Linked DNA regions of Homo sapiens: regions 2, 3, 4, 5, 6 and 7 are each linked to region 1. The links are contacts of gene promoters, found by promoter capture Hi-C in blood cells and fetal thymus (Javierre and others, 2016). All regions are on one chromosome and are shown on one strand. The core of a region is centred on a gene start or on the middle of the fragment in contact, and the rest is flanking DNA. Distances in the headings are between cores, read along the strand shown. Region 1 holds the start of DORIP1 (dopamine receptor interacting protein 1). Region 2 holds the start of RALGAPA1 (Ral GTPase activating protein catalytic subunit alpha 1). Region 3 holds the start of BRMS1L (BRMS1 like transcriptional repressor). Region 4 overlaps MBIP (MAP3K12 binding inhibitory protein 1). Region 5 has its middle 150 kb from the start of LINC00517. Region 6 has its middle 130 kb from the start of SSTR1. Region 7 has its middle 93 kb from the start of SEC23A-AS1.

Region 1 (3,726 bases), core at 796-3,295:
ACTTTATTAAAAGTTAAAACTTCTCTTCAAAATACACTGCTAAGAGAATGAGGGCCAGGTGTGGTGGCTCACGCCTGTAATCCCAGCACTTTGGGAGGCCGAGGTGGGCAGATCACCTGAGGCCAGGAGTTTGAGACCAGCCTGGCCAACATGGTGAAACTCTGCCTCTACTAAAAATACAAAAATTAGCTAGGCATGGTGGTGCACGTCTATAATCCCAGCTACTCGGAAAGCTGAGATACCAGAAACTCTTGATCCTGGGAGGCGGAAGTTGCAATAAGCCGAGATCATTCACTGCACTCCAGCCTGGGTAACAGATCAGGATTCTGAAAAAAAAAAAAAAAAAAAAAAAAAAAAAAGGCAGAGTTGGGGGGCGGTAGGTAAGCAGAAACTTAAGTGTGATGGGCATACTCATTTGATCACAGTGATGGTTTAAGGGGTTATACATATGTCAAAACTGATAAAAATTATACACTTTAAGTATGCTCTATATATTCTATGCCAATTATACTTCAGTAAATATATCTAAAAAAACCCTACAACTCAGATGTCAGATTTTGAAGACGGTGGAAAAGATGCAGAATGGAAATTTCAGTTAAAGGCCTCAGTGATGTTTGTGAGTTATCCAAGTATTCAAGGAATCCATGCTTCCTCCATCTAGCTGAGACTCGGCAGAGTTTAATGAGCAATCTCAATACTATTCTCCAGAAATGGTGTCATCCACCATACTATGGCTGTTTTCAGGAAGAGAATGACCTAATCAGTATAAAATGAACTCCATGTCTTGTGAGAGATTTATAATTAAACACATAATCCACATTTACAAACATTTTTAAAGGGCTTTTCTACCTGTAGGAGAGGATTAATATTGAGAGTGAACTTTTTGCAAGTTTTCCAACACACTAGTTTATCTCTAAGAGCCTCAGTTTCCTCATCTATAAAATACCATAAGAAATAAGAAAAAACAGGAAACTAAAAAGAGCAGGCTTTGCCAGAGCTATTAATTATTCTTTTTTGGGCAGAGCCAAAACTCAAGAAATGGAAGTCTCTCTTCCATTTCTAGACTTTTTTAGAGAGATCCATGAGGAAGTTCCCCTCCATAGCTTTGGCCGACCATCACACCGGTCAAGAAGGCATCCAGCCTCTCCCAGGCTCAGCCTGTGACGGAAAACCACACTGATTTACTAGGATAGCCTTGAGCTCTCTCATTAGCCCTCACGTGTTCTGAACGTTAGAGCTAACTTTCCAGACCCTCATTATTTGTTGAAAGGCTGGATGGGGAAAATCTCAACCAGATCTCCATGCCTACTTGCAAGGAGAGGTAGTTTTTGCAGGGTGGCCTGTGTTCTCCAGATGCAGAGCCATACAGGGCCTTGCTTCTTTACGGGAGATACAAAAACTCGGCCCTAATAAACAGAAATAGTGGTTGAGCCCACAAACTAGCATTAAGTTGTCCTAACTGTAATTTCCAGCTCCGTCACTTGCTGTGTGGGACCTTATTATCTCCAAAACCCAATTTTTTCAACTTCACAATGGAATTAAAACAATCTAATTTTTCAAAATGGGGTTAACTTCCACTGTAAGTTACAGTATATTGGCCAATAATTAACTTGAACACTAAAGCTGGCATTTAACAGATCAATTCAACTGTTTTCTAAGTAAATACTTAAACGCTTAAAAAACCGTAATTTACTGAGAAAACAAAGCTTTCTTTCTAGGTTAAGAATTTGAGAAAACAAGACCCAGAAGCAAACTAAAATCAAGTCCTAAAATGGTACAAACCTCAAAAAGCCAATCAGGTTTGCCAATAAAGCTCCGCCTCCGTGCAAACTCTGCCCACTTCCGGCTTCCCCACCCACCTTCTACCAGTGGAACCCCGCCCCTCTCTGCGAGGTCCCGCCCCCCACACCTGATCCTGGTTCCCATTGGGCGAATCTGGATGCTGTATACACAGCCGACACACGCACATTAGGCTGGGGCGTCTTCGCGCCTGCGCAGCTGCGCTGTCAGGCGGCTGAAAACGGGGGGGTTGGGGGGAGGGGGGCGGAGGTCGTGCCGAATCTTCCTCCGTAATAAGAAGCGACGTGTCCCACTGTCCTGGCTCCGTGGGTCCAGTGAGATTGGGCCTGGGCGCTGGAGCTGCTGTGGCTCCCGCCGCGGCGGCTGCCATGGAGGCCATGCCAGAGCCCAGAACTCACGCCGGGGGAGGCCGAGACAGCCGGCGGTACTCATAGATGAGGCAGCGGCGGCGGCGGCGGCGGCGGCAGCCCGGGCTCTCCATGAGCAGGCGGCGGCGGCGACGGGTGCGGCGGCACCGGCAGTTTTCGGTCCCCAGGGAGGTACGAGGAGTTTGCTTCCTGGTGGACGGAGACTGGCCGGTGTGGGAACGCCTTCCGCGGCCCGGCCCTCCAGCCTATTTGTCCGCAGTTCTGAGCACTCGGCGGGGCACTGCCCGGGCAGAGGCGGGGGCGCCCAGCCGACTCGCGGGCCCCTAACTCGGGGACCCGCCCGCCTCGGTGCCAGGCCTCCCGGGCGCGGCTGCCCAGGGCCAGGGTGGGCGTGGCCGGAACGTGGGGGCTCCCCGGGGGCGCACGCCTAGCGTCCGCCTTGTCCCTGTCCCGAAGTCCCGCGCTGCTGGGAGCGGTAGCGCGTGGCTGTACAGGCGTATTTTAGGCGCTGATTTGAGAGGGGACTTTTAGAATCCCTGAGTCCTTAGGGAGTCTGGCGTTCAATGCCTTGGGCATGTGGTGGGGTCCTCACGGCTAGCTTGGGGTACCAATTTCCTCCCTTGGAAGTCACCACGAAAGAAAGATGTTTTGTCAAAGAAATAGAGGTCAGGAGAGTTTTCCAGGTTTATTCAAATTGGAGGGCCCGTAGAGCCTGGAGAATAAAGCCAGCGGAATACATCCTCCAGTCCTTCTAATTACAGTTCCTAGCTAAACAGCTAAGACAATTTTAAGTAAAGCTCTTCACAGCTATCTTTCCATCATTTTTCCCCACCCCTCATTTTTATTGCAATTTACTTTGGAACAAATCACCAAATTCATGATGAAACTAGTATCCTCTAGTTCTTCCAAACCTTCCCTCCTCCCGTTTTTTCCAGAGAAAGACTAAAGTTTCATGCCACATATGTCATTATAGTTTAATTCTCTTAGAGTGTAAGGGTAGTTACACTTCATTTGGTCATGTCTGAAGATAATGTGAAGAAAATATCCTAGAGATTTATGCTTCCTTCCCAATGCACTATTTTAGGAATCCGAACTCAGGCTCTTTAAGCAATCTTAAACCTTGCTACAAAGTTCTTTAAAATTCAACGGAAATAAATCAAACCATAAAGTTATTTTCGTTTTTAAAGTATTTGAATGCATAACTGTTTTTTAAAATCTTTGTAAACAAAACGAATCAGTATCTATTACGAAGAAACTGAGTTTGTGTTTTCCTAGGCTGCAGATTTGCCACACCCTCTTCTTCCTAAGTGGATGACTAGAATCAATGTGTTGGCCAACTAGATATAAACATCCACTCTTCATACTAAATATAGTTACTGGATATTTTAGAGTCCACAGTATCTTGCTTCAAACTGAAAACACTGTGTTCATGTGTGTTTAATATATTGCAGAAGTGAATTTTTACTCGCGTTGCAGAATGTTTTGGACTTAGTTTCTTACACAAATAAAACACGTAGGACTGCAGCTTTATTAAGTGTTGAGTTCATGTTGTGTTTGG
Region 2 (3,726 bases), core at 407-2,906, 9.1 Mb before region 1:
ATTATCATAATTTACGTGAAATCACTGTAAACAGTAAAGCATCATAGAAATGTTGGGTAATATTGGTGGTATCCTGGTGGTATGAGTAAACAATAGACTAGAGAAACATGTACCTCAAATAAGGGACTTACTTTTTTCACTAAATAAACATCACTTTCCAAAACAAATACGCATCAGGAGGACAGCTCGAGATAAACTCTGAACTAGGATTCAGGCATCTGGATGAATGCATCTTCTTCAGCCAGTTCCACCATTAACTCTAAGTATCAACACAGGCGAAATAATTTTCCTTTTCATCTCAAATGTCTTCATCTAAAAAATCCAACTACTGGACCAGATGTTCCATAAGTATTATTACAGCCTTTATCAGCCTACCAAATGACTAAGTATTCAAAAGAGTCGATTAACATTATATTCAAAACTTAGAGCACTGTTTGGTCTACCAGCAAAACAGAACTTAAGGGCAGACGATAAAAAAAATATTTTTAATTAAAAATAGAATTATATACAATTCTCGAGAAGCAAAGGATGAGTTAAACTACCTATAATAGTTCTCCCTCTAAATGACTAGTGATGAACAAGGTGCATTAACAAAAGGGCGGGGCTCCTTCCCACAGCTTTTTGGGAACCGCCCACTTCCCAAAGAGGTGTAACTGCTACCTCCTTGTCTTCATCTGCCAAGAAACTTGAAAGATTAAGGTTTATATTGTCTGAGAGAGGATTTTATTTTTCTTTTTACTTGGGTGGGGTTGGCAGTAGTCATCTGGCAAACATATCCTATAAACACCATTATCCACAACGCCAGGTCTCCCCACAAAGTCTTAAAGATCTAAGTTTTTAGAGTAATACCAATTTTAAAAAATAAGTTCAGACTATTAACTCAAAATTAGATTACTGTGTTAACAGTAATCAGTGCTGCCAACTGCCAAGTTTTCGCTTCTCCGAATTATTCACCCTCCCGCGTCTCCGCAGAGGCTACGATTTGCCCTCTCCTGCACCGCGCCAGGTCCCGAGAGAGAGTCCGCAGGGGCTCCCAGGAGAGGGAAGGCCGGGCAACCCAGGCCTCGGCGCTGCCACCCCTCGCTCCTCACCGATGACGATGCGCAGGTGCTTGAGGCGAGTCAGTGCGTCCTTCTTGGTGTCTAGCACCTTCTGGGTGGACTTCTTCACGTCCCCGTGCGGCTTCTTGGAGAACATCCTGTCGCTGCCACTGCCACTGCCACTGCCACAGCCGGCTCCCAGCCGGGTCCCGGCGGCAGAAAGTGGAGGGAGTGGACGGGGAGGAGACTAGCCAGAGAGGCTCATTAGCTCCCCAGCCTTGCGGGCCAGGGCAGAGCCGACTCCTTCCCGATCCAGGCCAGGGCCGCCACCTCCACCCGCCTCGCGCCGCGGCTCCAAGGCACCTTCGGCCCCAGCTCCAATATGGCGGATCCCTCTCCCGGCCCTGCACGGAGCGAGGCAGACCCGGGCTGGCCGCCTGCCGCCGCCGCTCGTCTCCAGCGGCCGCCGCTCGCCGCCACAGGCCGGGGCCCCGGACCCAGAGCCACGAAGGTGGAGCTCTCGGCGGCAGGAGCACAACTCTCTCCCTGAGGCCCCCTTAAGGTTGAAGCTTCTTTAGCAGCTTACACCCTGCAGAGGCCGAAACGGAGACGAGTGTGGTAGTGATGGGGTTTCACGACTCTGCCGTCGGTGGCGAACGGTGTCCGTGGCAACCGCCTTCTGACGTCAAGAGTTCTTGACGTCATGCCAGCATGAGATCACCCGTGGCACTCCCCGCCTTGGTTTCCTGTGTAAGCAGCCAAAGGAGAATCTCAAGAAAGGCAAGGAAGGTAGTTACTGCGTGCTCCATTGTAAGCCAAATGATAGTAATAAGCAAAGAGAAGTAATCTTTATTAAATATGTCCATGATTTATCTTTGAAAATGTGCATAAGTTGTTGTGGCCACCAGATCCTCTAGCAGAAAGATAAACGAAGTTACAGTTGGGCAATTTATTCTGTCCTAAATCTATTACTAATAATATTTCCTGCACTATGTATGTGATTTCTTTCATATTTTTTCTATTTGCAATATCCCTGTTTTTTGCTGCAAACAACTTGACAACAGAAAGGCTTAAGCAGAGGTATCTAGGTTTTTTAAATAAAAGTAATCTTGCTTTCCTTTTCTATTGTGCTTTTAAAAATCTTTTCCCCATCTGCACCCCACATAAAGATGAATATATTGTCAGTTTTTCCTCTGCAAAGAAGAATTCAAGGTTCTTATTACATTGATGGAGTCATCTGAAGAATCTGCAATAGCTGAAAAAAATCCGTGAAATTCTGAATGACATAAATTGAAATTTTTATTGGAACCCTTTTTTTTTTTTTCCTTTTTCCTTTTCTTTCCAGACAGGGTCTCTGTGTCCCAGGCAGAAGTGCAGTGGTGTGATCTCAGCTCACTGAAGCCTCGAACTCCCAGGCTCAGGTGATGCTCCCACCTCAGCCTACCGAGTAGCTGGGACCACAGGTGCGCGCCACCACATCCAGCTAATTTTTGTGTTTTTTGTAGAGACGGGGTTTCGCCATTTTGCCCAAACTGGTCTAAAACTCCTAGACTCAAGTGATCCGCCCGCCTCAGCCTACCAAACTGCTGGGATTACAGGCGTGAGGCCACTGCGCCTGGCCAGGAACATTTCCTCCACAAAATAATTTGATAAAGAGTGAGTTTGCTTGTTTGAACTGTTTCCTTCTATGTTCTCACCCATAGCAATAGACTTGTCCAATGAAATATGTGATTAACATAGAAAAATAACAAAATCAGCAAAGAAGAGAGATGTAAGACATTTGCCAAAATTATGTTAAAATATAGTGCTTTGCTTAATGGTAGTTTGTTTCAACAACAATCCTATATTTTTTAAAGTACAAAAAATTTATTCAGTTTCTACATGTAGGGTTTGTTTGTATCATCAAACTTACAAGCCATACATGTTTTGAGGAAGCTTATAACATAATAGAAAAATAAGGGGATTGTTCAAGAGATTTTAGTTCTAGTTCCTCTCAGCATCAGTTTTCTTATTAATAAAATCAAAATAAGGTCTGTCCCTCACAGTTTCGTGAAATTTAGGCAATAATACAATGTTTTCAAGCATGATCTTTAGAATTACATAGACCTAAATTAGACATTCTGTTTTTCACTTGCAAGGACTTACTTGCTCTCGGGCCCTTGGCATGTAGTTCAGTCTCAGCCTGATTTTCCTCATTTGTAAACTACATCAGTGATTGTGATAATTAGGTGAGAAAAGTATTGAAAGTTACATCTATAATGACACATCTCATAACATTCCTTTCCTTCATAGAATTTAAATACAGTAATTTGTGTAACTGTTTACAGATTCTCTCTTTCATGAGACTGTAAACTCCCTGAGGACAGAGACTGTATAGATTGTCTAAAGTTGTATCCCAGTCTTCTTGCAAAGTGCTCTTTGCAAGATAGGCTCAATAAATCTGTGTCGAATAGAAGAACGAATGTCACTGTCCCTTCCTTTCTCTTGCGCAAGTACTCAGTAAATGTTTGGCAAATGAGTGACATAATTTTAGAGAATAAAAATGTAACATATCGTTAAAAATAATTATATGGCTGGTATACCTGAGAAAAAATGAAAACACCATTGCAAAACAAACTAGTATAATGTAATTTACATATGGCACACCCATCCCACTGCCTGGTTTTTCTCTTCCCATTGATTTAAA
Region 3 (3,726 bases), core at 626-3,125, 9.1 Mb before region 1:
TGTTGGGCACACCTCCCAGACGGGGTGGTGGCCGGGCAGAGGGGCTCCTCACTTCCCAGTAGGGGCGGCCGGGCAGAGGCGCCCCTCACCTCCCGGGCGGGGCGGCTGGCCGGGCAGGGGGCTGACCCCCAACCTCCCTCCCAGAAGGGGCGGCTGGCCGGGCGGGGCGCTGACCCCCCCACCTCCCTCCCGGAAGGGGCGGCTGGCCGGGCGGGGCGCTGACCCCCCCACCTCCCTCCCGTCCGGGAGGCTGGCCTGGCGGGGGCTGACCCCCACCTCCCTCCCGGACGGGGTGGCTGCCGGGCGGAGACGCTCTTCACTTCCCAGACGGGGTGGCTGCCGGACGGAGGGGCTCCTCACTTCTCAGACGGGGCGGCTGCCGGGCGGAGGGGCTCCTCACTTCTCAGACGGGGCGGTTGCCGGGCAGAGGGTCTCCTCACTTCTCAGACGGGGTGGCCGGGCAGAGACGCTCCTCACCTCCCAGACGGGGTCGCGGCTGGGCAGAGGCGCTCCTCACATCCCAGACGGGGCGGCGGGGCAGAGGTGCTCCCCACATCCCAGACGATGGGCTGCCAGGCAGAGACGCTCCTCACTTCCTAGATGGGATGGCGGCCGGGCAGAGACGCTCCTCACTTTCCAGACTGGGCAGCCAGGTAGAGGGGCTCCTCACATCCCAGACGATGGGCGGCCAGGCAGAGACGCTCCTCACTTCCCAGACGGGGTGGCGGCCGGGCAGAGGCTGCAATCTCGGCTCTTTGGGAGGCCAAGGCAGGCGGCTGGGAGGTGGTTGTAGCGAGCCGAGATCACGCCACTGCACTCCAGCCTGGGCACCATTGAGCACTGAGTGAACGAGACTCCGTCTGCAATCCCGGCACCTCGGGAGGTCGGGGCTGGCGGATCATTCGCGGTTAGGAGCTGGAGACCAGCCCGGCCAACACAGCGAAACCGTCTCCACCAAAAAAATACGAAAACCAGTCAGGCGTGGCGGCACGCGCCTGCAATCGCAGGCACTCGGCAGGCTGAGGCAGGAGAATCAGGCAGGGAGGTTGCAGTGAGCCGAGATGGCAGCAGTACAGTCCAGCTTCGGCTCGGCATCAGTGGGAGACCGTGGAAAGAGAGGGAGAGGGAGACCGTGGAGAGGGCGAGGGCGAGGGCGAGGGCGAGGGAGAGGGAGAGGGAGCTATGTACCCTTTTTTTGAGAAAGTACATCTGGTTAAGTATGTATTTTTCATTGAAAACTAAAGTTAAATCAGGACTGATGGCATTTTCCGACTGCATTTGGTAAAAAATAAATGCCAAAAATATTAGATTGAAAATGCCAAGATAAAACTTCCTTACCTTCTGTATTGTAAAAGTTTCAAGAATAATTTAAAGATTTTTGCACAACACAGAAAGTGCAAGTTATCGTCTATAGTTAATAATTAAATAAAACAGTTTATTAATGGTAGGTAATAAAGGTGCTTAGTAAAACAGATGGTTCTCCAGTTCCCCAGGCTCAATGAGCAGGCAAAGATCCTTTTAGGCAAAAGACATTTTCACATCTAACAGTAACATCTCTGATGGTCAGGCAGGTCAAACAATCACTTGGCGGGAAATAGATAAATACAGACTAAATTCGCACAATCTGTTTCTGTTTAGTTTATAAACTGCGATCCAGAGTGTCAGCTTTCGTGCCTTGTGGGACTTGAAGTCCAGAAGGAAGAAGTGATCAGGGCTGCCGAGGGATGGAAGCGTGCAGCCCCTGCAGGTCTGAGACCTACGAACTACAACTCCCGGCAAGCATCGGAAGGCCGCGTCGTAATTGCGGGCAACCAATCGTACCAGAGCAGGGCAAGCCCCCGCCCTCTGGCTCGGTGGAAGGCCTCCGCCAATGGCAGAGCTCCCATCGCAGAGCCTGCGGGTTAGGTTGTGAGGCCCGGGCCGGGGGCGGGGAGGAGCCAAGGGGGCGAGCAAGCTCGGTGGCTGGGTGGGTTGGGGCGTTCCGCGCGCCCTTCATTGAAGCGGCGGTGGCCGGGCTGGGCGCCGGTAGTGGAAAGCGACGGCGCGGCTGGAAAATGCCAGTCCATTCCCGAGGGGATAAGAAGGAGACCAACCATCACGATGAGATGGAGGTGGACTACGCCGAAAATGAGGGGAGCAGCTCCGAGGACGAGGACACTGAGAGCTCGTCGGTCTCCGAGGATGGAGATAGCTCAGGTGCGCGACCCACTGCTGGGACCCTGAGTCCCCGCGCCCAGCGCGCGACAGGCCGCTCTCCGCACGCCAGGCGGCTGCGTCCTGCTGGGAAAGCGGGGCGGGGACAGAGGGAAGGGGCGGAGACTGGCTCTGGGCCCTGGGCTGCACCCTGACCGGTCGCTGGGCGCTGTCTGGCTCCTGATGGGTCCCGGCGGCGGGGCGGGGCGGGCCTGGGCTTGTCCAGCTCCCAAACGCGGCGTGGTCCTGCCCCCGGTGGTGCTCTGGAGCGACCAGCCCAGGCGGACAACTTCCCGCAGCAGACAAACTGGAAATGCCTCCTCTCCCCAGCCCACCGACCTCTTTCCCTATTTTCACCTTTGCAACCCTCACTTCTCAGCGCAAGTGAGTTGCCGGGACAGAGGGTCGGCTTAGTAATTAACCTCAGTTTGCAAGTCAACTTGCCGGTCAGCACTTTTACATCAGTGTCTTTTCGGGGGCTAACTTGAGAGCGGTCCCGTTCAGTAGCTCCCTGAAGTTTGCAAGACTGAGAGGAAGGGACCAACATTCGGGCTCATTTTGGATCTTCATATGCTTATAAATTGGCTGAGTTTTGGCAGCGTTGAAAATTCTCCAAGTCTTTTCTTCCCTTCAGTTTTTTCTAACTTTGGGCTGTTTTAAATTATTTTGGGTGGGGGAGGAGGGCAGATTAACACTACAAATAAATTTTGCAAACTTTTAGGAATGGTTATTCTAAAGTGAAATGGAATTTGTGATTACCGGGATTATTTTCTTTCGATTCAAATGATGGAGATGAGACTGACTTCTTTGTCTTGGCCTGATTTTGGTCATGTAAAGGAAGCATTGATGATAGGTTGATGACAGCCTAGTATCACCCAGATGCCCTCTTTTCATGTTTCCCTTGCAAAGCAAATCTCCATGGAAGGATATAATTTCAATCAGTAAATCAGCCATCCAAAAATATTTATGAGTGACTTCTTTGTGCAGCACTGGACAGTACTCAATATGAGGGATAAATAGTTATTATCTGGGCTCACTTAAAAAGCTATCATAAGTCACCACTTGATTAAATTGCCAAATGAATGCTTAACTAAATGTTGCTGTAGGAATTCAGAGGCAGAGGAAATCGTTTCAATATTGGGTGGTCACAAAGCCTAGCTGAAGAAGGTGGGATTACCTTAATTATCTTGAAGAATGAGTAGAATTTGGTTTGGGGTGGTGGGTATCCCTGCAGGGAGAGGGATGTAAGAAAAAGTACAAGGGCCAGAGTTTGGGGCTTATTCAAAAGAGCGTGAAAACCTTGGGAGAAGGAGTTGAGCTCGGAAAAGAACAGGAAAGTATAGATGTGAGTGATTTCAAAGAAAGCACAAAACAGGATTGATGAATGCAAGTTTAGGATTGAAGGTAAGAGAAAAACCAAGATACAAGGAGAGTGGCGGTAGCATCAACAGAAATAGAAAAGTGAAAGATTTGAGATGAAGGTGAAAGAAAAGAGTATTTCAGACATGTTGCTTTTTTTTTTCTTTTCTCTCT
Region 4 (3,726 bases), core at 897-3,396, 8.6 Mb before region 1:
ACTAAATGGAGAGGGAGACTCAGTCTCTGCACCCAGTGAGGACTTGGGTTTGAGCAGGGTGCAGTAGTGACACATGATTGTAGTCCCACTGACACAGGAGGTTGAAGCAGGAGCATTACTTGAGCCTAGGAGTTCAAGTACAACCTGGGCAAGACTGGACTATCTCTTTTTTCTTTTTTTTTTAGAGTTGTCACTTAGTATCTTAGGCATGTTTGCTTGGGCTCTTTAAACTTCAATTTATTTATCTGTACAGTGATAACACCACCACCATCTCAAAAGGGTACTATGACCTTTTAAGTGAATTGACATACACATAACACTTCCTGAGTGACTGGCACTTACTGTTCAAGAAATGTTAGGAGCTAAATGAAAATTTGGTGACTAAATGAACTGCAATTTTTTAACCATTTGCAAAGGTTCATTATGAGGTGCCACTTAGCACTTTGCTTACCTGTCTGTAACCGCAAGTGGGCCTCAATATTTTGTAGTCGTTCTTCTACAGCCTGATTACCACAGTCTCGAAGCATGCTGTTAGGTTTATGACCTGACCCTGGAATTCCTTCAGGTCTAGTCTGTGGTCCGTATGTATTCACAACTCTAGAAACTAAATTAAGAAACTTTTGAGCCTATATACATTTGTATTTCAAAAATCAGAAATTCTTATTCCTTAACAGCACTTTATATTTTTTTCATAAAGACCATCTAACCACAAGTATGAAGGACGGCAAGATGTTTTTGTTTTAAAATAAAATTTAGATGGGAAAGTTATTTCTATTCCATTTTGCTAATAATCTAGACTTCTGTCAGTGACTCAGATGTCATGTGGTGGTTACTTACCTTTTACGTGACTTTTAAATCCGGGGTAAGGGGTAAAAATCGCATCAGTTCTTGCACAACTATTTTCTAAGGAGAATTTAGATAAATATAAGTTTAAATATATTCTTCCCTTCAAATGTATGAGATTTTAATAAACTTTCAATAATTCATATTAACATTTTACTCATAATAATTTTAATAAATAATAGTAACAATAAATTACTATCACACATAGGATAGAATTTAGTGACCTTCTTTACCTGTCAAAATTTATCATAATATCTAATATTCTTACCTAATGTTCAGATTTATATACAGAAAAGCCATCAACATTAAGTGGCACAAATTGATACAATTTTGAAAACCAATGTCACTATTTGGGCCACTGGAGAAAATAATCTACCATAGAGTATTTAAATTCTACTTCATCGTAGAAATAAAACTCATCATTTTTACTAGAATTCTTTTAATTCAGCATTTTTTATTTTAATGACCAAATTAGTGAACATCCAACAAAAAGAATTATTTAACATTTTTATTTCAGAACTCCACACAAAGATGACCTCAAAACCTCAAGTACACATACATTTCCACTCTACCTAGATTTCCAGTGCTCATTTTAAAAACCCTTCATCACAAAAGTCATCTACTTCTTCTTATCCCACCACTTTTCAAAAAAGTTTCATTTTAGTAAAGGTCTATTGTGAAAATTTGTCCCTATTTTTTTCCAAGCTGAAAAGTAGTTTCTTTCAAATTAAGTATCAATGCATAAATTACAAAAGGGGAAAATTGGAAAGATGTTAACATATAATACAACTAATTAACATAATTGTTATATATTAACATACGATACTACATAGTAATAATATATACTTATGTTTGAAATAATGTTTAAAGGCCACACATTGGCAGTAAATCTCCTGTAAAATTCCCCTGAATATTTTGTAAAAAATGGCTGGTAAATGAGATTCTTTAAAAAAAATTATTTTTTCCCCCCTATGAAATTTGATTTTTAAAAATTCCACTGCTTATAGTTAGGTTAAATTTGTAGGTATTAAAAGGAACACACTAACATATTAAAATACATTTGTATTTTTTTCAGTTGAACTTTCCTTAGTAGTTCTGTTGATAAATCAAATAGTATGCATAAAATTCCAAATCCACTTAGCTTTTATATCTAGAGACTAAATAGACATCTTTCCTCCTTTTTTTTTTTTTTGGAGGCACCTCAAAATATGCTTAAAGGGCCATCCTTTCTCCATTCTCTTCCTACCATTTCATGGGGCTAAGGGTTAAAAAAAGAAGCTATCATCCATTCCAGAACTATATTCCAAACATATAGATTAACTGACCATCAGTGAGAAATTCAGCATGGTGTGAGTGTATGACTGCTAGTCACTCTCCACAGCAATTCTTGCTAGCACTGTTTTGAGCCAGCAAAGAATTGAATGGGCCAAGGAATCCTGCTGAGCATTTCAATTCTCGTCAATTTCTATCCCCTGGTGGTTTATAATAATAGAGTTAGCAGGGAGAACAGAGGAATAACATTAGTGACACATGTGCTTGCTCTCTCAACAAACCCTTTCTCATAGTCGCTTGTAGTTGGTTGTAGTACCTGAGATTTTGCCATTGTTGCACCTGTTCTGAAAAGCTAACAGGAAAATATACCAAATTTAGAGATGCACATGTGTAATGTTAATAGTAGCACACAGCTAAATTCAGGACCCAATACCAGCCTATATTATTTCATTAAGAGAATCAGTGTACCAATGTGATATGAGTCATTTCTAGGTTCATCTGACAATTCTATGTTCATAATAATTAGCCATGAGATATTAGAGGCAACAAGAAACATGTTCATTCCAATTATGAACTCTTCTCCATAATTTTTCCTAAGAACTACTTGTTCTGATTATTACTATGGTGCCTGAGTATAATCTATGGCACTGCATTGCAATATTTTGTATTCTGCAGCATACTTGCAGATTTGTAAATGTACTATAGCATCAAGTAGAGAGGTAAAGGTGAATCAGATGAAAAACAGCAAATGTATGCACTATGGCAGAAAGGAAAAAAGCAAGACACCATGGTCTTCATGATAAATTGGTTGTATCGTGACACAGGACATTTCAAACAGCTCAGGAGTAGTGAGAAAACTGCTCCCTCTGGAGGAATATTAACTTTACTAAGTTCACTTACGTATTAACATCATGATTTCACAGTACATGTATAGGTTTGAAATTCATAGAGCTCAGTTCCTTTTACTAGTGAGATAGATCAACCTTCTCACTCGTACCTCACCTTCATTTCCTAAAGGAACTTTAAAATAATCTTCACCTGTGATAAACACTTTTTAATGTTAGCATTTACTTTGTGTAACCAAAATGAAAACCAGTTTGCAATATAGTCTATTATTAAGCAGAAGGAAACTCTACTGTCTTAATTACTAACTAAATCCATGAAATAAATTGAATTGTGTTCTAAAAGCTATTCATTTAAAAAATAAATAAAAGATTAGAGCAACTATAAAAATTGTGCTTAAAACCCTATGAAAATTAATTTCCAGGTAGTTACCTTGATTACAATCAATAACATTGCAAAATTCCCTGACGTTGTTTTCATTGATTTCAGCTTGCTTTCTTTCAATAAATGCAGATATTCGTCTGTCAATCTACAAACAACAAGTTTTAACAGTGTAAACATAAGATTTTTTAAAATAATACCCTCTCGCCCCCGCCAAAAAACCTTCTTACTTCTGCTTTTCCAGCCTTTATCTGAACTACTTCTGGATCAAAATGGATCTGTGTCTTTTTCACATCTCTTAAATCACTTTCTTTGTGCTTTTCTTCCTCTTGTAGGTCGCCAATGGAAAATTTGTCATTTACTTCATTTTTGTTCCCCATTTCTGTT
Region 5 (3,726 bases), core at 621-3,120, 6.8 Mb before region 1:
CTGAGCATTTGTGATACGGTGTGGCTCTGTGTCTCACCCAAATCTCTTCTCAAATTGTAATCCCCATGTGTTGAGGGAGGGATCTGGTGGGAAGTGATTGGATCATGGAGGTGGCTTCCCCCATGCAGTTTTTATGATAGTAAATGAGTTCTCTCATGAGATCTGATGGTTTAAAAGTGTTTGGCAGTTCCCCTACCCTCTCTCTTGCTGCCATGTAAGACATGCCTTGCTTCACCTTCTGCCATGATTGTAAGTTTCCTGAGACCTTTCCAGCCATGTGGAACTGTGAGTCAATTAAATCTCTCTTTTTTTAGAAAAAATAAATTACCCAGTCTCAGGTAGTTCTTTAGAGCAGTGTGAAAACAGACTAATACAATATGACTGTAATTTAAAGCATATTTATCCCATTGATGAGAAATTTATTATAGAGATTTGGCAATTGACAGGTAGAAGATAATTGAACAATTATGAATTCATTTAAGAAAAATCCTATGGTTTATTGTATTTGTTTGGATGGTAAACTCTCATTGGTTCCTCATGTGTTGTCAACCTTAAACAAGTATTTAGCTGTCAGGCACCATGTGAGACACTTGGGATATGATAGTGTTACAGCATCGTCCCTTATCTCAAGGACTCTCTAGTGTTAAGGGAGAGACAAACAGAAAGGGAATTTTTGTGGAGTGTGATGTTAAACATAGAGTGTGTTAAACATAGAGTACTATGGGAACACAGAAGAGACATCTAGACCTGGTCTGGAGATAGAGAGAGCTTCTGGAGGAAATGACAATTTGAGCTAGCTGAGACCTGAAGGTTGGGTAGGGGTTAAGAGGGCTGAGAATATCATTGCAGCAGAGGGAAGTGTATGTGCAAATATCTGAAGTTTGAGTAGAACATTATTTTTTTCTTTCTTTTCAGAACTTGGAAGTAGCTATGCATGGCTGGAGTTTAGAGTAAGAAAAACAGAGGGTCAAGAGCTGGAGAAACGAGCAGGGCCTTATATGTTGTGCTTGTTTTCGATTTCATCCTGAGTATATAGAGAATAATTTGAAGTGTCTTAAGCAAAAAACAGTAATGTGTCCTATTATAGAAAGAACATTCTAGATGTAATGTGAGTGAACTGGAAGACCACATGAATAAATGCAGAGATAGCAGTTACGATGTTGACAAGTACTGTATTTCACTAATTTTAAGACATACAATTTTCCCCCCACATTTTATTATCTCTAAATCTGGATTCATCTTACCGTTAGTGGCATGTCATAAATTAACAGAAAGCTTTTATTTTCTTTCTCAGTGATACAAAGCATAATAATGTAGTTTACAAACAATGGCAACTTAGATTCAAGTAAACAAAGTCAGAAATGATTGCAGCCTTCACTAAAATGGCAGTTGAAGAGAAGTGAATGTGAAATTAACATGTATTTTGGAGGTCAAATCATAAGAATCTGATGACTGCATTTGGGAACATGAGGTTGAGGAAAAAGTTGATGACTCCTATTTTTATTTTATTTTATGTTTTTTCATTTGTGCAGTTGGGATGTGGTGGTTCCATTCATTGAGGTAATGAACTCAATTGGGTTTGTGAGGATGAGGTAGGAAGGTGTGGGACAAGATAGATAAACAGTAAAGTTCTACGCGTAATGGTTATGAGGTTCTAGTGACTATCCAAGTTAGAACATTCCATCAGTGATTGCATCTACACTTTTGTTTATGAAAGGAATCTGAAGAGAAGATGTGGGCTCTTCTGAAAGATTTTTTACCAGCAAACCCATAAAGTAACCACAGTTGCCTTGGGCTACAAGGGAAGCAGTTTCCATCCAAAGGCTCTTCTATCTTATGTTTCATTCTTGTCCTAAGAATCCCTGAAGTGTGAACTCTGATATTGAAGTCTACATCCTCTTTATGCCTGGTAAATGTCCCTTAAGAAAAGTCCAGTCTTCTCTTTCCTGCAACCCACATGTCTTCTAGATGGTGCATATTTGAAGAGTAATCTCACTATCTTATGGAAAAGCTGAATGTATACTCATTCTGTCTGGGTTTCCAGATTTAAGAGAAATTAGATGGAAAAGGCTTACCTTTGTGACTTTGAAGTCAAGGATTGAGGTATAAAATTGTCTGCAGGAATAGTGGAAAGATAAGGAAAAGAGTAGAATATTCTGATCATGACCTTGCCACCTCTCTCTCCATAAGTTTCTCCTGGACCACCGGTGTCAGGCACCTCCTGGTTAGGTGTCTGCCAAGAACCTTGCCAGGCACTGCTCCTCCTTTCTGAGTGGTGGTGCTCAGAACCTCTGCACATGCTGCCAGGGTATGTGTTATGCCTGGTGGGTGATGCAGAGGAGACTCTGGACCTGTCTCTTTGCTTTCCAGGGCTTTATAGTTTTGGAGTGAGGATTGGGAAATATGATACAGCCATGAGAGGCTTCCCCTATTTCATTTAGACTCATAGTATTTACATTTTATCAGAAGCTTTCTTATACATTACCTTATTTGATCCTCATGAGTACTTGATGAACTAGATTAGTTGGGCACTGTTATACCCATTGTATCTCCACTGATGACCTTGTGTTTCAGAAGAGAAGAAGTCCAAAGCTAGACATGGATCTGGCAATATTAGAATTTAGTTCTCGTGAATTCCAGTTCAATCCTTTTCTCACTAGACCAGTGAAAAGGAAAAAGATTTCTAAAGGTTTTTTAAGATACCTTAGCTGATATTGAATGGAATTCTCTGAGACAAGCCTAATATCTAAGGGTCTTCTAGAAGCTGAGGCTATTTCAGAAAAGCCCAATGTCCCTTAAAAGTAGTGGTGGTACTGAGGATCTTTGCCACTATTTAATTCAGACCAATAGAGCAGGGAGGTCTCTAAGAGGGGTCTTTTAGGAGTCATGCATATAGAATTTGTTTGCTCCCAGAGGCCAGCAAATACCCTGTGGTTTGGCCCTTTTATTTTGATGTTGAACTCAGCACAGTACATGTTTTGCCTGCCCTTTCCTAGGCTTAGAAAAATATCCAGGTGAAAGAAGGAGAGTATTATTCATTACCCTAGGCAATTTGTGTGGAATGGTTTGGTTCCCAAAAACTGTCACTCCAAAGTGCAAAGAGTTCAGATCTGGAGTTTTGCAGTTGAGAGTGTGTTGAGCACCTTATGACAGGCAGTTCTGTAAAGTGAGGTTACAGAGTTCAGCAGTGGAATGTATTAGAAAGGGAAACACTCTCTGGTGTGTAGAAACATGCCCTTCAGCAAATCTGTTAACTTCATTTTAGCCTGGACCTTTTCCTTCTTGAATGTAATAAAGCTTCTGAAATGACTGCACTTGGTGAGAGGGCCTCTTCTGTCATTTACAGCAGTGGAAAACTCACAGAGTAAGTGAATTACTTTGGTTTTCAATAAAAATGTTAATATCTACCTTAGATGTGAACAAAGGACATTGCATTTCAATAATGTGATGATCAAATCCACAGGGGCTGAGAGAGAGGGAGTGTATGGAGCTGCCACTCAGTGAGAGAATGAGAGAGAGAGAAAATGAGAGAGAGAGAGAGAGAGAGAGAGAGAGACTGCAGAAGAGAACAAGTGCATGAGTACAAGAAGGAATAATTGGAGATACACCGTGCTTTAGAGGAGAACTCAAACTATGCCAAATACAATTAAGAAGATGGCAAATCAAACTGCTCTCTTTGAACAATAACAGGTAATGCAGTGCTTACAATTTTTTCCAGTACTAAAA
Region 6 (3,726 bases), core at 383-2,882, 6.8 Mb before region 1:
TAGTTTGACCCATAAAAACACTCAGAGGAGTGCAAACCACTTTGGATTTTTGAAGGGAACACTGACAAATGATTTGAGTGATATTTTCCAGAATAGAGATAATGGGACTCTCTTTTCTGTCATAAACAGAAAGAACTTTGGATGGCCTGAGACCATTCTGGGCCATAGTCATCAGCAAGTCCTGCTCTGGATATGTGACTTTGGCATGTCATATACAGAGTTCATCTCAGAGGAGCTGCTAATGCAGGTTAATTTAAAAAGCTCAAAATCTTGCAAATCACCCACCATGATTTAGGGATTATCCCTCCCCTCATTAGAACTGTAAATTTTAATATAAAAAAAATTGAGATAATCTAATTCAGTGGTTTTCTTAAAGTTGTAGTGTCTAACTATGAAATTCTCCAAAGACACTGAAAATTGTAGAAGATAACAATAACATTCATCATCAGTAGTAAGCAGATGGTAACATTTTGTTATACCTAATTCAGATCTCTTTTTAAAAAATAGAAACAAATATTCCTGATACGACAAACCACCCTTCTTCCAACTCCCAATTCTTTCGCCTATTTTTTTCAGGAGAAGTTATCTCAACTTTGAAATGCATGCAAGTTAAAAAATACCCCTCCTACAAACGTATTTATTCAATAATGCTATATGGTTTTGTTTCACATATTTTAAAATTCACATAAATGGAATCATATGAGTGCCAGCTTGCAATTTGCCTTTTCACTCATTATTGATTTTTGAGAACTATCCATGTTGGTAAATGCAGATGTAGCTTATTTATTTTAATTGCTGTATAGTATTCCATTGTATGAATGACATTTGAGAGATGGTAAAGTTATTTCCAGGTTCTCGTTACTTTAAATAGTGCTTCAGTGAACATCCTTGCATGTGTATCCTTGTGTACACATCCCTTGTGCTTCTCCAAGTTAAAGAACATGAGCCCAGACGTGGAATTTCTTACTCAGAGACTATTCACATTTTAGATTTTACTGGATTTTGTTCTATTACTCTTCATAATGGTTGTACAAATTTACAGTCACACCAGCAATAGCTAATTGGTTAAGAGTTTGTGCTCTCAGATTTATTAATTTGTGGCAAATTTGATGAAATGATATCTCATCATAGTTTATGGTTTTTGTGTCTTCTTTAGGAAATCCCTACCTTTGTCATGGGCATAAAATGTTACATGTTTTCTTGTAAAAATGTCATATTACTGATTTTTCTTCTTTAACTCATTTGCATTTTTTCAATGGACATAAAATAATATCTTTTTGTCTTTTTCCATATGGAGAGCCAATTTTCTAGAAATAGTTATTGAATAGTCCACTCACAACTCTTGGCCAGTTCTGGTCACATGGTCCTACCCAAACATGAGGGGAGTGCCCAGAAGTGGCTCCCCACTGAACATATTGGTGAACAGCAATAGTATTAAATAATTACCTACAAGGGATATGATGGTTTTAAAATATGTTCACAGATTCTTTGACACTCTTCTTTTCAAAAGATGGAGTCTAATTTCTCTTCTCTTGTGTGTAAGCTGGACCTAGTAACATGTATTCTAGTGCCAGAAGTGAGGGTGTATGATTTCCAAGATAAAGTTAGAAAAGGTACTGTGGCTTCTGTCTTACTTTCTTTTGGATCACCTGCTCTGGGGAAAGCCAGGTGTTATGTTAGAGGCTACTTGGGCAGCCTTATGGCAAAACACATGTGGCAAGGAACTGAGGCTTCTTTGTAAAAGGCAGCAGTAATTTGTCAATTATGCAAATAGCCACCATGAAAGCAGCTCCTCCCACTCTAGTCAAGCCTGGAGATGACTGCAGCCTTGGCCACTGGGATCTTCACTGCAAACTGAGGACAAGTCAAGTCCTGAGCCAGAGTCCTTAGCCACTCAGCTAAGGTGTTCCCAAACTCTCAACCCACTGAAATTCTGTGAGATGATAAGTGTTTATTTTTGTTCTAAGCCAATCAATTTTGGAGTGATTTGTTTAATGGTAATAAAGGATTAATCCATTGAGTTTCACTAAATTTGAAGGCAATGTTTATTTCAATATGATTTAAAATATAGGTTATGTGGCATAAATCACATCTAATTTGGTAGTCCTAGGAGATTATTAACCTCAAAGAAACGATTATTAATTAACCAGAGCAGGTTTATAAACTGATGGACAACCAGAGGTCTGGAAAGACATTTATATCTATTGAGGTGCTGTGGACAGGAAAAAAAAAAAAAAAAAAAAAAACAGAAACAAAAACCAAAACCTCAAACCAGTCATTACTAATAGGAACCACAATAAAAAGTTGTGTTTTGAATTTGAAAGCTCCAAATTGCCGTGACTCATTTGCTATTCGTCTGCTTCTTACATGGACAACTCCATAGAACCATGCATCCATGGAATAGGGATTGAGTAGGGATTTAATTAATTATTTATTTTTATTTAATGTCACATGATATTAGAGAATGAAACAAAGGTCCGTGTAGTCTCTAGCATAAAAATATCATCTGGTTTCCATACTTCATAAAGTTTTGGGAAGGTCAAAGTAAATAATGTGAGAAAAGGCTTTGGGAGCACAAAAGAACTGTGTTAATGTATCACCAGAATTATGTGTCAGTCAGGAAAAGCTAGGTTTTGCTGTGGTAATGGAAACTCCAAAATCGTAGGGGCTTACAACTTGTGAGCTTTAGTTTTTGTTTATGTTAGACCACTCCAAGTTGGCCATGGCTCTGTCATGTCATCTTCACTCTGAGACCCAGAAGGCAGAGTAGCCTGTAGCCAGAGGAGTGACACTTGTCATACCAAAGAGAAAGAGTCATGAAGGACTTCCTGAAAGGGCAGACTTCATGATTTGCTAGAAAGACTCAGAGCACATTACTGTGTAGTGATGATTTATTACAGCAAAATGATACAAAGTAGAATAAGCAAAGGAAAAGGTACATGGGACAAAGTTTTTTGGAGGAAAACAGGTACAAGATTCCGAGTCCTTATCCAGTGCAGTAACACAGGATGTGCTTCATTCCTCCAGTGCCAAATCGTAACAATGTGTGAAATGTCATCTACTGGGGAAGTTCACAAGACAGACTCAATGCCTAGAGTTTTTACTGAGGGATGATCACAATAGGCATCCTCTGTCCTGCATGTACCCAAATTCTGGACTCCCAGAAAGGGTTCATGGGTTCAGCATAAGCCTTATTCTTTGCACAAACAGTTTAGGTGCTGTGAGCCATCCTTATCAGGAAATGTGAGACCCTTCCTGAAATTCAAGCTCCCCAATTCCAGCTGAGGGCCAATCTTGCACACAGGTCTTTCTAAGCCAAGCAGACTCAGACCTTTTATGCTAATTCTTTCTGCAAAAACCCATATCACTCCTGTTCACATTTTCTTGCACAGAGGAGGTCACATGGCCAAAACTGACATCAAAGCAGTGAGAAAGTATAATCTTCCCACAGGAAGTGGCAGCCGATATTTTGAACTATAATACGATCTACTATAGAAACAACATGAAAAAAAGAGAGAAGAAACTGATATCTCCTACACCTATGTATATGCATACTTTATGCATATTTTCATTGTCTTGGCTCACATTATATAAATTGTTTTAATGAAATGAATTGGGCCAGGTAATCCCAGCACATTGTGACGATGAGGTGGGAGGATTGCTTGAGTCCAGGAGTTCAAGACCAGCCTAGGCAACATAGTGAGAGCCCCATCTCTATAAAAATTA
Region 7 (3,726 bases), core at 858-3,357, 5.9 Mb before region 1:
GGAGGCTGAGGCAGGAGAATCACTTGAACTGGGGAGGCGGAGGTTGCAGTGAGCTGAGATTGCTCCATTGCACTCCAGCCTGGGCGACAAGAGGGAAACTCAGTCTCAAAAAAAGTAAAAATAAAGAAAAAAAAGAAAAACTAAACTAAAGCAATGTCAAAACATTCTTAATAGATACAATTTTTTATATTTTTATAATAATCTGGAATTTTTAAATCTAGATTTTTACAATTAAAAAAAATTTACAATAATCCAGAATACATTAACAAAAATGGGTGAATGAGGAACAATGAGCAGCAAGAAGGTGGAAGGTAATGGAAAAACATGACTTTACTCTTTAACAACTGGAGAAATGTAAGTTAAAAAGTGCTTTTGGACATGAGGACACATCAAGTTTGACCTTTGAACATTTGAACAGAAAGTACTGGACAAGCCAATAACCAGGAAAATATTTCAAGTTCTGGCCAGAGAGTCTAACCCTGGTTTTTACTTCCCCTCCATCTAACACTGGCCTGTAAACATCTGTCCCCCACCTCCTGAGTGTTCAATTCCGTTGAAGTGCTTTCAAATATCCTCCAAGTTATACCCAAAAACTATGAATCTGAATGTTCCCAAATGTTTCTTTCCAGCTGCACCAGAGTTGTGCTGAGTTCCACCTAGGCAGGTCCCAGTGGTCTGCAGTACTCTTGATTTCTTCAATCAGATAGTAGGCATCTCCAGACCCAGGAATGACTCAGCTTCACTTTGAATTTGAGATTTTATACTCTGCATCACTCCTAAATCATTTAAGAAAGCTGAAATAGCTTTTCCGTTTTCCAAACTCCCCAGACCAAATATAGTGCTGATTATACCCAACAGGTATTAAATAGGGGGGTGATTGCAGTTAACAAAAAAAAAAAAAAAAAAGTGCTTTTGAAAACTAAGTACTGTAACAAAATTTAAATGTGTGTTTATCTCCAAAGAAGGACAAATAAGATCCATACTTCAAAACAATAGAAATGCAAAGAACTATCAAAACAAAACTTGAAACAAGATGATAAGTAAGACCTAATGCATTAAAGTCAAAGGGCTGCGGATTGAGTTCAAACTGCTGTTTTTAAGAGGCTGTTATAATATAAAATGCCATAAATGGGATAAAAGTAAAAGAAAAGGAAAAATATATGAAAGACAAAGGCAAACAAAAGAGAAACAGAAAAGAAAATACTAATTTCAAATTAAAATGAATTTAAGGCCAAAAGCTTTACATAGGGCAAATACTATCATTTTATATTAAGGTTTCTTTGTATCACAGTGACAGTCCAATCCTTACATGCTGACTAGAATTGTATTGAAACACATACAGATTTCTTAAAAATGCAAGGATATGTCTTCAGTAACTCAGTCATAATAGGAGATTTTGACAGTCTCCACCTTGACAAATCCAATAAGAAAAAACTAAACACGACACAATGTTTTAAAAAATACATACTATTTAATGAATATATATCAAATTATGTATCCCACAAGTCAAGCACCACCTTCTAAAAACCTTCTAAGTAAAAGAAAAAAATCAAAACTACTGTTACAATCAATTTAGAAATAATCAAAATGAGAACACTGCAGTACATATAAAAGGATATGATATTACAAATGAGGCACTCAGGGGAAAAAAATTGTAAGCACTTTAAATATTAAGCAATTTTAAGTGTCAAAATAATGAACTGAGAACTTATAAGAAAACAGTAAGGCCACGTGCAATGGTGCATGCCTATAGTCCTAGCTACTCAGGAGGATGACGTGAGCCCAGGAGTTTGAAGGAGTTTGAAGCTGTAGGGCTCCATGACTGTGCCTGTGAATAGTCATGGCACTCCAGGCTGGGAAACTCTGCAAGATCTGTTTCTAAAAACAAACAAATAAAAGCAATAAAACCAGTCAAGGGTAAGCACGAGGAAGGAATTAATGAATAGGAAAAGAAGAAAGTAATAAATAAGAAAATAGAAAAATATTAAAACTGATGTATTACCCCCAAAGATGGTTCTTTGAAAGAACTGATAAAAGAGACAAACTTCTGTTGAATCTAATTAGGAAGCAGATAGAAAGTACTCATAGAAGACTACTGGATTCACATCAGGAATCCAGATATGAGAACTTTTTTAGATAAAAGATTAAAACTTAAATAAATCAGGATCAAATAATGAAATACCGTTTCACACCAGTTAGCCTAGCAAAAATTATAAAACTCTAACAATAACAAAGGCTGTGCATATGTAGTTGAATAGCTAGGCTAGACCACAGCAAACTGCTTTGGTTTTGAGGATAAGCAAGCCTAGAGACTTCAAGTAGTTCAAAGTTGCTTTTATTTTAGTCTACTATGCAAACAGCAAATAGGCCGTGTGGAGGATGTCTATCTGAGATGCAGGTGGGTGGATGTGGCTCCCTGTTACTTCCCTTGCATTTCATGGTGGCACACTGGAACTTCAGTCCATCAGGTCAGAGGACCATAGAATAGAGGGGTCCCTGATTCTTTATATCCCTAAACACATTAAAACCCAGAAACAACTTTTTTCACTCAAAAAGCCAAAGTGCCCATGCCTAGTGTTCAAACTCCATGACTTGACATCCTTGACATGGCAGCTCTGGGGCAATGCCCGTTGTCTGCACTGCAGGATCCTGGAGTCTTCCATTTGTGTCCACTTGAGATTTTTAATGCAATGGCTTGGCCATAATATTTCACAAGATAACCCACTACCCATCCATTTTTTAATTCATTTATTCAACGAATATTTGGCAGCCTTTTATGTGCCAAGCCACGTAATAAGTTCTGGGAATGCAAAAACTTTGGACAAAAATAACTGCCCTCAGTATGGGCAGCACATTCTAACAGGAAAGACCAATACTGTAAAAAAAACAAACAAACAAACAAACAAAACAAACAAAGAAACCGTGTAATATTGACTGTGTACAGATAGCCATAAGAGCAAGTCATGGGAATTCAGAGAAGCTTTCACTGGGAAGGTACCTTTAAGAATGAGCTTTCTAGCCAAAGAGAGGTGACTCCAAGCAGAGCAGCCTTCTCCTCCAGATCCTATCACTTCCACTGGCCTCCTCGGAACATCATCCCTCTTGTCTAAATCCTATCACTTCCACAGGCCTCCTCAGAACATCATCTCTCGTGTCTAAATGACAGGTATTTCCCAGACACCTCCTTGTTGATTGCATTCAGCCTGACACTCTTCAGGCTTCTCCATTCTGTACATTTCCCTGCTTTATTCTGCCATGTGATCCTCATTGCCTTCAAGAGAAAATCTAAACTTCTTAACCTTATTGATATGGTTTGGATGTTGTCCCGTCTAAATCTCATGTTGAATTGTAATCCCCAATGTTGGAGGTGGGGCCTAAAGGGAGGTGATTCGGTCACAAGAGGGGATCCCTCATGGCTTGGTGCTATCTTTGTGACAGTCGTGAGTTCTCATGAGATCTGGTTATTTAAAAGTGTGTGGCACTTCCTCCTCCTCTCTTGCTCGGGTTTTCACCATGTGAGGCACTTGCTCCCTCTTTGCCTTCCACCGTGAGTACAAGCTCTCTGAGGCCCTGAGCAGAAGCCAAGCAGATGTCAGTGCCATATTTCCTGCACAGCCTGAAGAACTGTAAGCCAATCAAACCTCTTTTCTTTATAAATTACCCAGCCCCAGGTATTTATTTATAGCAACACAGGAACAGCCTAACACATCTGACTTACATGGATCT

The links. Contacts are between HindIII fragments. The CHiCAGO score rates a contact against its expected background, and 5 or more counts as called.
Region 2: a contact is called between the fragment with the promoter of RALGAPA1 here and the fragment with the promoter of DORIP1 in region 1, in 9 of 17 cell types (naive CD4 T cells, naive B cells, total B cells and 6 more). The highest score is 29.5, in naive CD4 T cells.
Region 3: a contact is called between the fragment with the promoter of BRMS1L here and the fragment with the promoter of DORIP1 in region 1, in 2 of 17 cell types (total B cells and total CD4 T cells). The highest score is 7.2, in total B cells.
Region 4: a fragment that was not itself captured here is called in contact with the fragment with the promoter of DORIP1 in region 1 in 2 of 17 cell types (non-activated CD4 T cells and naive B cells); the score reaches 7.2 in non-activated CD4 T cells.
Region 5: a fragment that was not itself captured here is called in contact with the fragment with the promoter of DORIP1 in region 1 in 1 of 17 cell types (naive CD4 T cells); the score reaches 6.1 in naive CD4 T cells.
Region 6: a contact is called between a fragment that was not itself captured here and the fragment with the promoter of DORIP1 in region 1, in 3 of 17 cell types (naive CD8 T cells, activated CD4 T cells and naive CD4 T cells). The highest score is 6.8, in naive CD8 T cells.
Region 7: a contact is called between a fragment that was not itself captured here and the fragment with the promoter of DORIP1 in region 1, in 4 of 17 cell types (activated CD4 T cells, non-activated CD4 T cells, total CD4 T cells and 1 more). The highest score is 9.9, in activated CD4 T cells.

The regions. Positions count from the first base shown.
Region 1 is chr14:44,895,230-44,898,955 of GRCh38, forward strand. It overlaps DORIP1 (dopamine receptor interacting protein 1), which reads left to right and starts at 2,046. Exons shown (of 5, transcript NM_001017923.2): 1 at 2,046-2,339. It overlaps LOC101927418 (a long non-coding RNA gene), which reads right to left. Exons shown (of 3, transcript NR_110050.1): 3 at 3,679-3,726. RefSeq lists enhancers at 1,691-1,740, 2,365-2,864 and silencers at 2,231-2,360, 2,381-2,700. The HindIII fragment of the contact is 3,873 bases long and covers 1,705-3,726 here.
Region 2 is chr14:35,807,639-35,811,364 of GRCh38, forward strand. It overlaps RALGAPA1 (Ral GTPase activating protein catalytic subunit alpha 1), which reads right to left and starts at 1,657. Exons shown (of 42, transcript NM_001346249.2): 1 at 1,092-1,657. The coding sequence starts at 1,197. RefSeq lists enhancers at 1,307-1,867, 1,704-1,803 and a silencer at 1,384-1,623. The HindIII fragment of the contact is 1,366 bases long and covers 1,608-2,973 here.
Region 3 is chr14:35,824,463-35,828,188 of GRCh38, forward strand. BRMS1L (BRMS1 like transcriptional repressor) reads left to right here and starts at 1,876. Exons shown (of 10, transcript NM_032352.4): 1 at 1,876-2,196. The coding sequence starts at 2,055. RefSeq lists silencers at 1,917-2,016, 2,267-2,436. The HindIII fragment of the contact is 11,609 bases long and covers 1-3,726 here.
Region 4 is chr14:36,311,122-36,314,847 of GRCh38, forward strand. MBIP (MAP3K12 binding inhibitory protein 1) reads right to left here. Exons shown (of 9, transcript NM_016586.3): 3 at 3,570-3,726; 4 at 3,391-3,487; 5 at 838-903; 6 at 452-604. Among named protein-coding and RNA genes, the nearest start is that of MBIP, 7.7 kb to the right of the region's middle. The HindIII fragment of the contact is 7,085 bases long and covers 1-3,726 here.
Region 5 is chr14:38,050,704-38,054,429 of GRCh38, forward strand. No RefSeq gene overlaps it. Among named protein-coding and RNA genes, the nearest start is that of LINC00517, 150 kb to the left of the region's middle. The HindIII fragment of the contact is 1,194 bases long and covers 1,274-2,467 here.
Region 6 is chr14:38,071,522-38,075,247 of GRCh38, forward strand. No RefSeq gene overlaps it. Among named protein-coding and RNA genes, the nearest start is that of SSTR1, 130 kb to the right of the region's middle. The HindIII fragment of the contact is 8,133 bases long and covers 1-3,726 here.
Region 7 is chr14:39,008,755-39,012,480 of GRCh38, forward strand. No RefSeq gene overlaps it. Among named protein-coding and RNA genes, the nearest start is that of SEC23A-AS1, 93 kb to the right of the region's middle. The HindIII fragment of the contact is 1,742 bases long and covers 1,237-2,978 here.